Regions from separate parts of the Homo sapiens genome. Here all the other regions are linked to region 4. Evidence: promoter capture Hi-C in 16 types of primary human blood cells and fetal thymus (Javierre and others, 2016). All regions are on one chromosome and are shown on one strand. The core of a region is centred on a gene start or on the middle of the fragment in contact, and the rest is flanking DNA. Distances in the headings are between cores, read along the strand shown. Region 1 holds the start of DDX23 (DEAD-box helicase 23). Region 2 overlaps KANSL2 (KAT8 regulatory NSL complex subunit 2). Region 3 has its middle 28 kb from the start of SNORA2C. Region 4 holds the start of SENP1 (SUMO specific peptidase 1). Region 5 overlaps KANSL2 (KAT8 regulatory NSL complex subunit 2).

What was found. Contacts are between HindIII fragments. The CHiCAGO score rates a contact against its expected background, and 5 or more counts as called.
Region 1: a contact is called between the fragment with the promoter of DDX23 here and the fragment with the promoter of SENP1 in region 4, in 13 of 17 cell types (erythroblasts, neutrophils, M2 macrophages and 10 more). The highest score is 16.3, in erythroblasts.
Region 2: a contact is called between a fragment that was not itself captured here and the fragment with the promoter of SENP1 in region 4, in 1 of 17 cell types (erythroblasts). The highest score is 6.1, in erythroblasts.
Region 3: a fragment that was not itself captured here is called in contact with the fragment with the promoter of SENP1 in region 4 in 2 of 17 cell types (M1 macrophages and M0 macrophages); the score reaches 8.4 in M1 macrophages.
Region 5: a fragment that was not itself captured here is called in contact with the fragment with the promoter of SENP1 in region 4 in 11 of 17 cell types (erythroblasts, M1 macrophages, M2 macrophages and 8 more); the score reaches 9.8 in erythroblasts.

What each region holds. Positions count from the first base shown.
Region 1 is chr12:48,850,746-48,853,492 of GRCh38, forward strand. DDX23 (DEAD-box helicase 23) reads right to left here and starts at 1,418. Exons shown (of 17, transcript NM_004818.3): 1 at 1,339-1,418. LOC105369755 (a long non-coding RNA gene) reads left to right here and starts at 976. Exons shown (of 2, transcript XR_944925.3): 1 at 976-1,069; 2 at 1,305-1,804. RefSeq lists enhancers at 1,274-1,463, 2,343-2,552. The HindIII fragment of the contact is 5,632 bases long and covers 1-2,747 here.
Region 2 is chr12:48,658,788-48,661,502 of GRCh38, forward strand. It overlaps KANSL2 (KAT8 regulatory NSL complex subunit 2), which reads right to left. Exons shown (of 10, transcript NM_017822.4): 8 at 1,579-1,832. Among named protein-coding and RNA genes, the nearest start is that of SNORA2A, 3.4 kb to the left of the region's middle. The HindIII fragment of the contact is 6,321 bases long and covers 1-2,715 here.
Region 3 is chr12:48,624,726-48,627,537 of GRCh38, forward strand. No RefSeq gene overlaps it. Among named protein-coding and RNA genes, the nearest start is that of SNORA2C, 28 kb to the right of the region's middle. The HindIII fragment of the contact is 702 bases long and covers 1,100-1,801 here.
Region 4 is chr12:48,104,573-48,107,330 of GRCh38, forward strand. It overlaps SENP1 (SUMO specific peptidase 1), which reads right to left and starts at 1,507. Exons shown (of 18, transcript NM_001267594.2): 1 at 1,456-1,507. It also overlaps a transcript of PFKM not described here. RefSeq lists enhancers at 504-1,379, 885-1,094, 1,380-2,253 and a silencer at 1,235-1,374. The HindIII fragment of the contact is 3,654 bases long and covers 1-2,244 here.
Region 5 is chr12:48,676,126-48,678,902 of GRCh38, forward strand. The region is part of intron 4 of KANSL2 (KAT8 regulatory NSL complex subunit 2); the gene reads right to left. Among named protein-coding and RNA genes, the nearest start is that of KANSL2, 4.7 kb to the right of the region's middle. The HindIII fragment of the contact is 1,630 bases long and covers 589-2,218 here.

The DNA of each region.
Region 1 (2,747 bases), core at 168-2,667, 750 kb after region 4:
GTCAACTGTGTCAAGTACCACCGAAGTGGAGAGGGAATAAGGGACAGGGAAGTAACCACTGAATTTGGAAAAATGGAGATTATTGGTGACCTTGACAAGAGCTGTTTCAGTTGCATTGCGGGAATGGAAGCCTGAGTGGAATGAGTTTGGAAGAGAATGAAAAATGAGAAGAAGACAGTAAATACAGGCAACTTTTATTACAGGTTCTATTATCACAAGGGCCAAATAACCAGGCTGACTCTGGCCATGCTTCCCAGCAGCCTTCCTCTCAAACCTCCAGATCTTCAGGTCCTCAGTTCTTGCAGGGCAGGGGCACATTCTTTTTTTTCACTCAATGACGTATTTAACAAGCATCTACTGTACGCAAGGCACAGTGCTAGGTGCTATGTGAGTTACAAAAATAAATTCTGTTCACAGGAAGTGTTTAGAACAACAGGGTTATGAGGTCGGACGCGGTGGCTCACGCATGTAATCCTAACACTTTAAGAGGCCGAGACAGGTGGATTGCCTGAGCTCAGGAGTTCGAGACCAGCCTGGGGAACACGGTGAAACCCCGTCTCTACTAAAAATACAAAAAATTAGCCGGGCGTGGCGGCGTGCGCCTGTAATCACAGCTACTCGGGAGGCTGAGACAGGAGAATCGCTTGAACCCGGGAGGCGGAGGTTGCAGAGAACCAAGATCGTGCCATTGCACTCCAGCCTAGGCGACAGAGCGAGACTCCGTCTCAAAAAAAAAAAGAAAAGAAAAGAAAAAAAAGAACAATAGGGGGTATGAGACACATACCAAGAAGAGTATCAAGGCTCAGATGTAGTAATACAGGTGTTCAAAGGCGTTTCCTTTCACTTGTAAAAGGTGATGTGGAAGGCTTGGAAGAGGAAGTGACGCTTGAGCTTTTAAGTATAAGTAGAATTTTAAGATATGTAATTAAGGACGCGGAAAAGAAGTCATTCCCGGCAAAAGAAATAATACGGCCGGCGCAGAGGCGGGAAAACATGGACTGACTGCGAGAGAAAAGCCAGAGTTCCAGTTTGGCTGCACCAAAGGCTACTTTAAGCATGAAAGAATAAGGTCAGACTGGGGGTATCAGAGGCGCTGTGCCCATAGGCAGAGTCCTGGGAGGAAAATATCGTGCAGGGACGTGGCCTGTGCCCGGAGGAGCCAACACTACCCCTGGGGCCCGCGCCCCTTCACTCCAGCCCGCCCGAGCTTCCCGGGTTCATGCCCCTTCTCTGAGGCGTTCTTTCCCGCCTCATCCAGGAGGCAGGGGCCACCGCCGTGCCCTGACTCTAGCCCTTTCTGTAAGCTCGTGGGAACCGCCTCCACCGCCCGGGACTCACCACCCTGAGTCTGAACCGCCCAACGCGGCCTCAACGTCGCGGAGCCGTCGCCATCTTTCCCGTTTCCTGGTCGCGGAGATGAACACCCCCCACCCCCCCGGCCGCGAGGCAAGCTGGGAAGGCGAGTTCCTGGAGCTGGGCGGCACAGGCCGACACTGAGGCCTGGAAACTACCAATCCCAGAATGCATGACTTGAGCGCCGGCCCCAGGCTGCGGGGTCTGCCGGGCAATGTGGTTTGCCAGACGTTAGCGTCCGGGAAGGAAGAGTTTTTCGCCAATAGGCTTTCGGCATTAGGTTCTCCCGCCGAGCACCCTTCTTGGAATCGGCTGGTCTTCCTAGAAACTACGGTCTATGACTGTCCTTGCCCGTGGCTTACAGTGGAGGAATTTAAGGGCTTCCTGAGATATCTGTAGTACGTAATTATAGCTAACAACCGCAGTAACAATAAATACCATTCGTGGAAAAGCGGTTTTTATAATAATTCTGTGAGAATGGGGCTAGCCCCATTTTACAGTTGGACAAACTAAAGATCAGGTTACCGGAGTAGGTTCACAAGGAGGGTGATGCAGTTCTCCATTGTGTGTGGAACTATCCCAGGCTTAGGAGGACGTTTTAGCAACCTTGGCCCCTGCAGCCGGGTGAATGCCATAACAACCCCCAGTTATTGTTACAGCTCCAAATGAGCCCACACAATGGGCTCTAAAGTCCTCCCGGAAGGATGGTATCTCCTGGGCTCTAGCACCTGTTTTCTCAACATTCCAGATGGAACCCTGGTTTCCTCAATTTCTTGCCCTTTGGAATGTGACCAATTGTTGAGCTATCTTGGTATTTTTGCTTCTTTCTTCCCCCAGATTCCCCTACTTCAGTCTTCCACTGAGTTTTGTTGTTGCTGTTGTTGTTGTTGTTGATGTTGTTGTTGTTGTTTTAACCTCAAATCGTAAGTTCACTTTGTGTTTCTCTTTGGTCTTATGGGTTCATAACTCTTTCCCTCAAAACAAAACAAAACATTGCAGTTGCGGAAACGGTTTAGATAACCAGAAGTATCTCGGACCTCCCTTCCCATTTTGCCAGCAGCAGGTTTGTTGCTTCAATTCCACATGGCTGTAGGTCTGCCTTTTCTCTCTGAATATGCCCAAGCTCTCAAGCAGAGCCTCAGGATAGACCCAAGTAATCCTAAAGCCCTGAGCATCACGTACAATGGCCCAAAGTAACCCTCGGAGACACACACTTCTCTTAGAACCTGCAGCCTTTCACCTCCCAGCTTCTACTCCAGAGAGAACGCAAGGGAAAGAAGAGAGCTCTGAGATCTGTTAGGTGTAATTCACCACAAAAGCACGAGAGGGCGCTCGACTCACAGATTCACAGATTAAACTAAGAATCAGACCAACCATGGTAGGCCAGAATCTTC
Region 2 (2,715 bases), core at 82-2,581, 550 kb after region 4:
CACGTTTTGTTACTATCTCCAAAACCAGCAATAGAGAATGAGAGAGAAGGAACTCAAAAGTAGTAAGATTAAGGTGTTAAGTTACTACTTGCCAACCATCCTTGCATCAAAGCACAGAAAACAAGCAAATATCCAGAATGAACGGCTGTGTTTTTACTCATATTAATATCTGATGCCTAGTCTTCCCGCAAGTAAAATCACCAAAGTTATCATTAACAGTTATACGCCAGGAATGGTGAATCATGCCTATAATCCCAGCACTTTGGGAGGCCAAGGTGGGTGGGTCACTTGAGGCCAGGAGTTAGAGACCAGCCTGGCCAACATGGTGAAACCCTGTCTCTACAAAAAATACAAAAATCAGCAAGGCCTGCTGGCGCACACCTGTAGTCCCAGCTACCCAGGAGGGTGAAGCACAAGAATCACTTGAACCCTGAAGGCAGAGGCTGCAGTGAGCTGAGATCACATCACTGCACTCCAGCTTGAACAACAGAACAAGACTCAGTCTAAAAAAAAAAAAGCCAAGTTATAGTGGCCAGGCACAGTGGTTCACACTTGTAATCCCAGCACTTTGGGAGGCCAAGGTAAGAGGATCACTTGAGGCCAAGGTAAGAGGATCACTTGAGCCTAGGAGTTGAAGACCAGCCCATGCAACATAGGGAGATCTCATCTATACAAAAAATAAAAAATTGGCTGGGCATGGTGGCATAAACCTATAGTCCCAGCTACTTGGGAGGCTGAGACAGGAGGATCACTTAAGCCCAGGAGTTCGAGGCTGCACGGAGCCATGATCATGCCACTGCACTCCAGCCTGAGCAACAGAGCAAGACCCCAATTTAAAAAAAAAAAAGTTATAAAAATGATAACTAAGCTGGGCGTGGTGGCTCATGCCACCGACAGAAACTCTGTCTCAAAAGTTCTTAACAGTATATTCCTTAATAGCCAGAAAGTAGAAACAGCACAAATATCCATCAACTGATATATTTTTAAAGCGTGGTATTTCCAAACAATGGAATATTAATTCAGTCACAAAAAGGAATGAAGTATTGATACATATTATAGTATGGATAAACCTTGAAAACATTATGCTAAGTGAAACAAGCAAGACACAAAAGGATACATATACTATTACATTGATATGAAATGTCCAGAATAAGCAAAATCAGAGACAAAAAGTAGATTCATCGTGGCCAGGGGCTGAGGGGAGAAGAAAATGAAGAGTGTCATAATAGGTACTGAGTTTCTTTTGGAGATGGTGAAAACCTTCTGAAATTAGATAGTGGTGGTAGTTGCGTAACTTTGCGAATATACTAAAAATCACTCAATTATACACTTTCAAAGAGTGCAATTTATAGTATGTAAATTGTATCCCTAAAAAGGTATGGGAAGAGTCTGGAAAAAAATATAAGGTAGGGTAGATTTCTCTAAATGAATATGCTAACATATAAATACAACTATACGTATATATCACTTCAAAAACTTTGTCGATTCTCCTAACCACAAAGACTAACCTATTCTCACCATTAATAAATAAGGCTTTGTCTCAAGGGCCTGAACCAAAGCAGAGCTTCTCTAACTTACATCACTGAACTCCAGAGGTAAACTCTCAGTGGGCTGAAGCTCAGCAGCACTCAAGTACAGATCCATGGGGCCGGCTTCCAGATCGTCTGGCACAGACAGTACCTGCTCGGGCTTATACATCTGAGGAGGCAACTGGAAATGCAGTGGGCAGCAGGGATCCTCAGAGAGGCTTACAGGAACAGGTTTGTTGCAGGGTACCTCTTCAGATCCCTGGCAGCACTTGAAGAGAACCTGATTCGTATCCTGACAAATATCTGTAGAAAAATGGTCAAGGGAAATAAAACACAATCTATCGAAAGCATAAAATACAAATAGCATTGTCTGCCACATAAAACTCAAGGTGTGGACTATATAAGATAAATTACAACTACATTTGATACAGAATACCAAATGCAGTTAGCAATTTTTAAAGTTACTTCTCAAAATAAATGTCATTTACTAGCATCAAATTCTAGCTCTACCAGTAATTTAAAACTTGTCCCCAACCTCCTTTTCAGGATCCTGGTCATTTAAACTAGACACCATCCCATTCTCCCTTAAGCAAGTAGCAGTAACACTCCTAGGAACACACACATATTCAGAAGAAACATGTAGTGGCAAATGCAAATAGCCTTGAAAATGCCCCTAAACAGCCCTTCCAAAAGAGTCAAGCGATACAATGTCTCTGCTCCCTTAGCAGACTGGCAAAGTTTGCAACAATTTCTTGGACCTCGTTTCCAAAGATGATTACATGATAAATTCATTTAAAGCACCACTGGAATAGGGGGAAACAGAGCTCTAGTAAAAGTCACTAGGTATCATATCCTAACAAGAAATTAAATATACATGCCTTTTTTTTTTAGGGGAGTGTGCTAGTACAGAGGAATCCTTTTATGATCCTAAAGGAAGAAGAAAATTTTGTGTATGAAGGCCCATTGAAAAAAAAAAGTATTCTAGAAACATTCCAAGGACTCTATTAACAACTTTTGTTAAAGGTAGAAGAAGAAAAGGGCTATATTTCCAAGTTAGCAAAGAAGCTCTGTAGGATGAACCAAAATTGAGATGATTAGATACAATAAAATTCAAGTTACTTTACAAAACACATTTTATGCAAGTGCTACCATTTCTTGAAATCTGTTAACTACCTGGTTATCTTCC
Region 3 (2,812 bases), core at 201-2,700, 520 kb after region 4:
ATCTATTCCTTGTATTTCACAGTTTTCAAGCCCTAATTCATGATACTCAGGCCGGGTGCGGTGGCTCACGCCTGTAATCCCAGCACTCTGGAAGGCCGAGGCGGGCAGATCACGAGGTCAGGAGATGGAGACCATCCTGGCTAACACGGTGAAACCCCGTCTCTACTGAAAATACAAAAAAGTAGCCGGGCTCGGTGTTGGGCACCTGCAGTTCCAGCTGCTTGGGAGGCTGAGGCAGGAGAATCAGTTGAGCCTGGGAGGTGGAGGTTGCAGTGAGCTGAAATCATAACCCTGCACTCTAGCCTGGGCGACAGAGCCAGAATCCATCTCAAAAAAAAAAAAAAAGAAAAAATTCATGATAGTCAACAAAAAGCCCAAATTATTTTCACATAATTGGCTACTAAGTTGGGTCTTACCCTTCCTATGCTTGTGTAACCGGTTGTTAAAATCTACATGCAGATTTTATATGTGCCTCTGTTAAATTCCGTCTTGTTTTTAGTTTGGCATTCCAAAAGGCAAGATTATTTTGAATTATAATTGTTGCTTACAATATTGATTTTCCCTCTTTGTTTCATATCATCTGAAGTTTGATGAGCCATGCATGCTTACTATGCCTATTGAAGTCATTGCTAAAATAGGTGACGAAGATAAGATCTACAACACATTCTCCTTTTCACTAGACAGATTTCTCCAGATTTTTAGTCATTAATGAATAATTTTGGTGTATGGTAGCCAAACTAAAAGCGTTATCTTTTTTCTTTTTTTCTTTTTTGAGACAGAGTCTCGTTCTGTCGCCCAGGCTGGAGTGCATTGGCACGATCTTGGCTCACTGCAACCTCCGCCTCCCAGGTTCACGCCATTCTCCTGCCTCAGCCTCCTGAGTAGCTGGGATTACAGGCGCACACCACCACACCTGGTTAATTTTTTGTGTATTTTTAGTAGAGACAGGGTTTCACTATGTTGGTCAGACTGGTCTTGAACTCCTGACCTCGTGATCCGCCTGCCTCGGCCTCCCAAAGTGGTGGGATTACAGGCGTGAGCCACTGCACCAGGCTAAAAAAGCGTTATCTCTAAGCACACAGTCATCATCTTTTTATGAAGCTTTACTGAGATTAACATGCCCTTTCTCTGCTCCTTTCTCCTGATTGTTAAATTATTAGTACTGTCAATAAAAGATATTATTATGAGGTTTTACATTAGGTTCAGCATTACAAAGATCCTGGTGATCCCTTATGGGACTTCCAACTATTCTACATAGCATCTATTTAGGAATTTTACCAGGAACCAAGGTCAAATTCATTGGTTGGCAAGGGCAGTGCTTCTAACTTTATAATCATAAGCATTGGCTCAGAGTGTAGACTTCAGAAGTTTCGGGTCAGTTGACTGGTTGGTTGATTTGGTTAGTTTAACTAGTTTCTTCCTTTGCTCCCTCTTTCTGCTAAACCCAGAGTCCTATTTCACTCTCAATTCAAGTCACTCCTTGGCTCTTTAAGAAATCATTAGTATATAGAAGACAGAATATGTTCAAATACATATGAAAGCATTCAGTTTGTTCCATGTCTGTATCCCCATATGACTGAATGTGGGTCTGCATGATGTAAGCCCAAAGCCAAAGGAAAACGTAGGATCAGGCCAGGAACAGAAAAACCCTGTGTTCTCACTGCCATCGGCTAATGTGAGATGTCGCCTTTCTTAACTTCAAAAGTGAGAAAACTATCACATTGGGCTTTCTGGTTTCTTCCTCCTACGCACACACATATTTTTGACTTCCATATCCATTCTTATTTATGATTCCATCCCAAGCTTCCAATATTCCCTCAACTGTAGGGGATGACCCAATGATTCCTCCTCTATTTTAGTAGTCATTTAAATGTCTCTTTGACTCTAGCGTTAACTGTCAGATGGTGCAATTTTTTCATGGCAATTTGCTTTTGGAAAATTATTGTAATGAATTCATATATTAATTTATTTATTCATTCCACAAAGTCTTCCTATGTGTTTGGTGGAAAGGTAGTGCTGCAATAACTGAGAGAAGGAAACCTACGCCAGAAGAGAAGTTTCTAAAGAACCCACAGTTAGTTAAGATAAACTGAGCATTTGACCTGTATGGAAAATACAAGGCAGGAGAACCAAGATAAATAGAGTGTTTCCAGTTTCCAACAAACTGATCGGAGACTGGGCAAAGTGTGGAAATGGCTTTACCAAGGGTCACCAGGCCACCTGTCCAAAGAGAAAGAGTGGTTTCCCAGGGGGGTGGGATCTGGGTTAATTCAGATCTTTCTGTGTTGCATATCTTGCTGAATAGATGATATAGATTGCTCATCTGGATTTCCAAGTCTCATTTTCTTGGAAAGAAAAAATAGTCTGAGATGAGTGGCAGCCTCAGGAACGTGCATGACTTCAGAGTAGGACCAACTCTCCTAGAGGCGATGCGCACGCCTCCTACCCTTCCACAGTTCACCAGCTGTGGTCCTCCTGTTGGTGCCCAGCCGGGACCTCCAGGTAAATAGCTCCCTGCGGATTGGAAGAACATTATGCTGCTCTCTAATTTTGACATTTCTATCACTTAAAAAACGTTTGGGGCCAGATGCAGTGGCTCACGCCTATAATCCCAGAACTTTGGGAGGATCGCTTGAGCGCAGAAATTTGAGACCAGCCTGGACGATATAGGGAGACTTCATTTCTGTTAAATTTTTTTTTAAGTAGCCAGGCATGGTGGCATGTGCTTGTAGTCCCAGCTACTTGGGAGGCTGAGGTGGGAGGATGGCTTGAGCCCAGGAAGTCGAGGCTGTAGTGAGCTGTGATCGCACCA
Region 4 (2,758 bases), core at 257-2,756:
CTGTGCACCGACTACGTGCATTAAGAAAGGGTCCCTGCCACTGAGCAGCTCACTGTCCAGTAGGGAAAGCCAGATCCATAAACAGGTACCGCAAGACAGTAGAGCTGGTACAACTGATAGAAGATGTAGAAGTTGGGAAGAAAAGGACAAGAGTTCCAAAGCCGCAATGCAAGTCAACAACTGCATTCCCTTAGCCAGAAGTAGCAGAACCTGTTTTTGTACCCATCCACTCCCTCTAGACAACTCATTAGATGAGTGACATGAAGACCATCTTTGCAGTTGGGATAATTAATTGAAGTCAGTTAAAAATGAATAAGCCTTCCTAAAAGGGACTAGAGAGGAAAAATAAAGGGTGGTAGAGTGTAAACTGGAAGTAGGTTAAGGGATCATGCTTATAGAGATGCTTAAAGTTGCGCTTTAACTGTAATTTCAAAGTCAGGGTAATCTGTATTTCAACATGAGTCCTTAACACAAATTATTTTTATGAAGAATAAAGATTTAGGAGATGATGAGATCTAATACATCCAGAATAACCAATTATAACAAAGACCCTCAGTCAAATAGTTGGTAGTAGATAAAAGGCTTTATATGAATATTACAAGAATCACCACCACTCCAAATATAATAAGTGTACCAAATATGAAGTAAAATGACTTTAACAAGGCTGACTTGAAAGTGATAAAGAAGCAAGTTACTGCTAACAAGATAGTGGAAATACTGCACAGGCACCGATAAACAGAAATCACCAAGCTCAAGGAAAGAGAAACGAGGCATAGATCCAGAGATCACGTTAGGGTACACCAAGAAAGAGACGGTTCAAGGGAATTACCAGGAGGCGATGAGCCAGGTAAGCAAATTGTGGCAGTTAAGGGGATTTTCATAACCTGAGCAGGAGGGTCCAGACGTTTCTTTCTGATGGTGGCACTAGCGATATCACATCTCAGGGAGATACCACAGAGTAGGAGAGTTGGAGAAATGTTTACGTGAGACGCAGAAGTAGTCAAGAAATATCACTCGGGTCTCAAGGAAGGCGGGAGATGAAGCCGGTACCACAGAAAGCCGAGCTTCCCGGTGAAAACAGCTCTCCCCAGAGAAGACCCAGCTCTGGCGGGAAAGCCCCGGAATCGCAACCGGCCTTTCCCCAAGTACGGCTGGGCGCTGGGATGGGGCCTGCTGTAACGGCAGGGAGACGGTCTCTCCGCGGCCCAGGAGAGAGAGACCAGAAGGAACGGCCTCAGGTAGCCTAACGGCCACCGGCGGCCACAGCGCGGCCACCGGACAGCAGGGGGGAGGGGAGGTGGTCCCAGGGGGCGGGGCAGAGGAAAAGGCGCCGGCCCCACAGTGCTCCCCGCTTCCGCCCAGTCCAGCCCGGGCCGGCTGACCGGGTCCGACACAGTCTCCTGGACCAGGCTCCCTCCATCCTCACCCCTCCCCCAGCTTCCCGCCGCCACTCACCGAACCGGAACCGGCTGCCATGCGAAGGGGTTTCCGGCCGGGCGCGGAACGCAAAACCCGGGAACCGCCGCGAACCGGAACCGCCTTCACAGCACCGGAAGAGTCGCTAGGTGGCTGAAGAGGAGGGGGCTGGGGCAGGAGGTCAAAGAACAGAGTTAAGGACCAGTGGGGCGCCTGCGCGGTGTGGCGAGGCCCGAGAAGCGAAGGGAGCATTTAAGACTAGTCGTAATTTCTCAGTACCCTTTTCAGTCTGGGCTTTTTCGCTTTCTCGTACTCGGAATACTGTTAGTGAGCCCTTCGTCCTATGCTTTTCTCTGTTCCCTCTGCTCCCTTACCCGCCGCCTTCTGGTTCCGCCCGGCGAGTTTTGCTTGCTTGCGTTCCAGTTTCCATGGCAGCTTTTCGCGGTGGCCCTAAATCTGCGGAAACCTGTGGCTTCCCCCGACAGATAGGGACCTGAGATCTAAATCGATCTCAGGCTATCTCGTGTTTTATTGAGAATCACAGAACGTTAGTGCTTGTAGAGGTTATTGGAGATACTTTAGTCTTACCAGGTTCAGAGAAGTGAAGTGATTTCCCAAAGGTTTTAAGTGCACGGCCCATCTAGGACTAGGAAACAAGTTTCTTAACTTGCAATCCTGTACTCTGCACCACCTCATACTTGATTGACCATTCAGCAAGCAAACAAACAAACAAACAAGCAACTTGAGGACGGATTAGGCTAGACTCTGGCAAGATGTAGAACCTTCCAGAACTCTGGAGGAATTTGAAACAGGCAGAGCTGTGAGGAAAGCTTTTGGGAGCCCACTAGAGATCTGCTTTTCTGGGTAGAGATAGAGAAGGACCCAGGAATCACCTGTGACCTTTGAAGGGCTTTGTTGTTCCTGGGACACATTGATTAACCTGGAATCTGCCATACTTTCTAAGAGAACATAATGGGAAGAAATATGTTTGTTCATTCAGGCTTTTTGTCAAGCACCTCAGCTTGGCAGGCCTCTGGACCCAGGCCCTGTAGAAGTCTTAGAGAAATGCCCCCTTAATAGGTCCTTTACACCCAGATCACAGCCACAGGCACAGTCTGAGCTCAGACTTAAAGAAGGGCAGTTTCTGGAGGCCCCCAGCCTTTCTGATACTCTCAGCAGCTTGCTGAGTTCAGGGTTTCCTCCCCTGTCAAATACATCAAAGTAGATTATTTGTATTGCCTCATGTGCTGATACTTTTATATTATATTGTCAAGTCCTAAGGCCAAGTAGTCATGAGTGTAGCTGGTCCATGTCAGTCACTGACATCTTATTTCACAGCTCT
Region 5 (2,777 bases), core at 154-2,653, 570 kb after region 4:
TATGAGATAGGGTCTCCCTCTGTTGCCCAGACTGGAATGCAGTGGCACGATCACAGAGCCTCAACCTCCCAGGCTCAAGCCATCCTCCTACTTGAGCCTCTCGAGTAGTTAAGACTACAGACCACGTGCACCACCACGTCTGGCTAATTTTTAAATCTTTCGTAGAGACGGTGTCTCCCTATGTTGCCCAGGCTGGTCTCGAACTCCTGGGCTCAAGCAATCCTCCCACCTCGACCTCCCAAAGTGCTAGGATCACTGGGCGCACTGGTTCGTCCCTGTAATCCCAGCACTTTGGGAGGCTGACGGGCAGATCACCTCAGATCAGGAGTTCAAGACCAGCCTGCCAACATGGAGAAACCCCGTCTCTACTAAAAACACAAAAATCAGCTGGGTGTGGTGGCGGGCACCTGTAATCCCAGCTACTCGGGAGGCTGAGGCAGGAAAATCATTTGAACCCGGGAGGCGGAGGTTGCAGTGAGCTGAGATCGCACCATTGCACTCCAGCCTGGGTGACAAGAGTGAAACTTCGTGTCAAAAAAAAAAAGTGCGAGGATTACATGCGTAAGTCACTACGCCTGGCCATAAACAAGCTTTACTTTTAACAAAACAATTAAGTAAGTGGTTACTTTGAGGGAAATCATATATATACTAACAGGAAGTTTAAAAAATCTATGCCAACAATATTCTAGTTAGGATCAAGTCTCTAGCAACATCATAAACAATATAAAATTGCCCTTTGTGTAACAAGCAATTGAAGATAAATGTGGTTAAACTATTAGATGATTCAAAAAGTGATCCTATTGATGACAAAGACACTGGTGCCCTAAGATAAAAATTCTTAATGAAAAGAATTTTACTCAGTGGACATACTACTAAATTACTATATTATTAAATATAAGAAGATAGTAATATGTAATCATAAGGAGACACTGAACAACTCTATTTACATGCCTAAAAATGCATAAATTTAGTGGGTCTAAATTTTTTTAAAAAATAATCTCACTGAGGAAAATTAACGAAAGCCTTATACTTAGTTGCCTAATAGCTGACCATATTTGGGGCTTTATTTTCTCTTCTGAACATGTTTCCTCTAGGAGAGAGTGACATCAACTGCCTAGTACTTTCCACATTTGTATTTCTCATAAAATGACCTGGTATTTTGGTTTATACAGCAGCCTCCTGTAAGTTAAATCAGCATCCATGTGCCTCCTAGAGACTGATCCACTCTAGATTACTAACAAAATCAAGTTTCTCGACCTTAAGCTGAGTGTTTACCACACCAAACGACACTCCCTTTGTAACCCTAGAGAGCATACATCTCTTCAAAGCAGCAAGTTTGGCCATCTAGAACCACAATGGAAAAAAAAGGAATGAAGCTGGGCCTGATGGCTCATGCCTGTAATCCCAGCACTTTGGGAGGCCGAGGCAGGTGAATCACGAGGTCAGGAATTCGAGACCAGCCTGGCCAACATGGTGAAACCCCATCTCTACTAAAAATACAAAAAATTACCTGGGTGTGGTGGTGGGTGCCTATAATCCCAGCTACTTGGGAGGGAGGCTGAGGCAGGAGAATTGCTTGAACCTGGGAGGCGGAGGTTGCAGTGAACTGAGATCATGCCACTGCACTCCAGCCTGGGTGACAGTGCAAGACTCCATCTCAAAAAAAAAAAAAAAAAAAAAAAAAAGGAATGAATATGTTGGTTTAAGTTACTATTTGTGAGAGAATCCTGCAAGAGAACAGTCATTCCCTTTCCAACTACTTAGATGGGTTTTCTAAACTAGTACTTCCTGAATAGTTGACCACAGTGAGATTACTCAATAGAAATGGATGAAATTATTCTACTCAGAAAACGTAACCCTAACATACGGCCATACTATCCGGAACATGCCCAACCTCCTCTGATCTCAGAAGCTAAGCAGGGTCAGGAGAAAATGTAACCCTAAATGACTTCTTATAAACCAAAGAATCCAAAGTAATGAAGAAAATGCTATTGCAAGAACAAAAGCCCAATAGTCAATCTAGAAATTACCCCTTCCACTATTTACAGTCCCTTTACATAAACTGTCAGTACAAAGTGTTAAGACACAGAAGTCAGCAGGCAAACATTTTTAAAAACTACACCCAGACCTTGAGACACAGAAATATGAGACTCCAGAGTGGTAATGTTTTTATGCTTCTACAACTCCTACGGTGATGATGGGTTAAGTGAAGAGCAGAAGCTTACTAAGATATAAACCTGATTAAGATATAATCACTTTTGGGTTTCTAAATCGGTTTCTCTTTCTTAGGCATGAAACCAAACTCTTGAATACCTTTTTATTCTTCTTTTTAAAAAAAAAATCCACACACAAAAAAACACTAAATGCTTGAGCTGATGAATATGCTAATTACCCTGATTTGATCATGACACAAGGTTTACAAGTATCCAAACATCACACTGTACCCCATACATTGTACAATTGTCAATTTAAAACAATATATAACTTTAAAAAATTTATAAATCCCATAAACACGACATTTTGCAGAAGTATTCAACTACAATCACATTATTCCTGAGGTTTAGGCCAAGCACCCATTCACAACCATTTTCTCTTCTCTAAACTGGTCTGACCATTTCTCAATCCACCTCCCACACTCCCATGTCTAAATTTCCTGTTTTCTCCCCTATACTTTCTCATACGTAGAATTTGGTGTTCAAACTTTTTTTAAATTACAAGGCTTCTAAAAAAGAATCATCCTGCCTTGAAGCAAGACGACAATGAACCATGCCACTTTT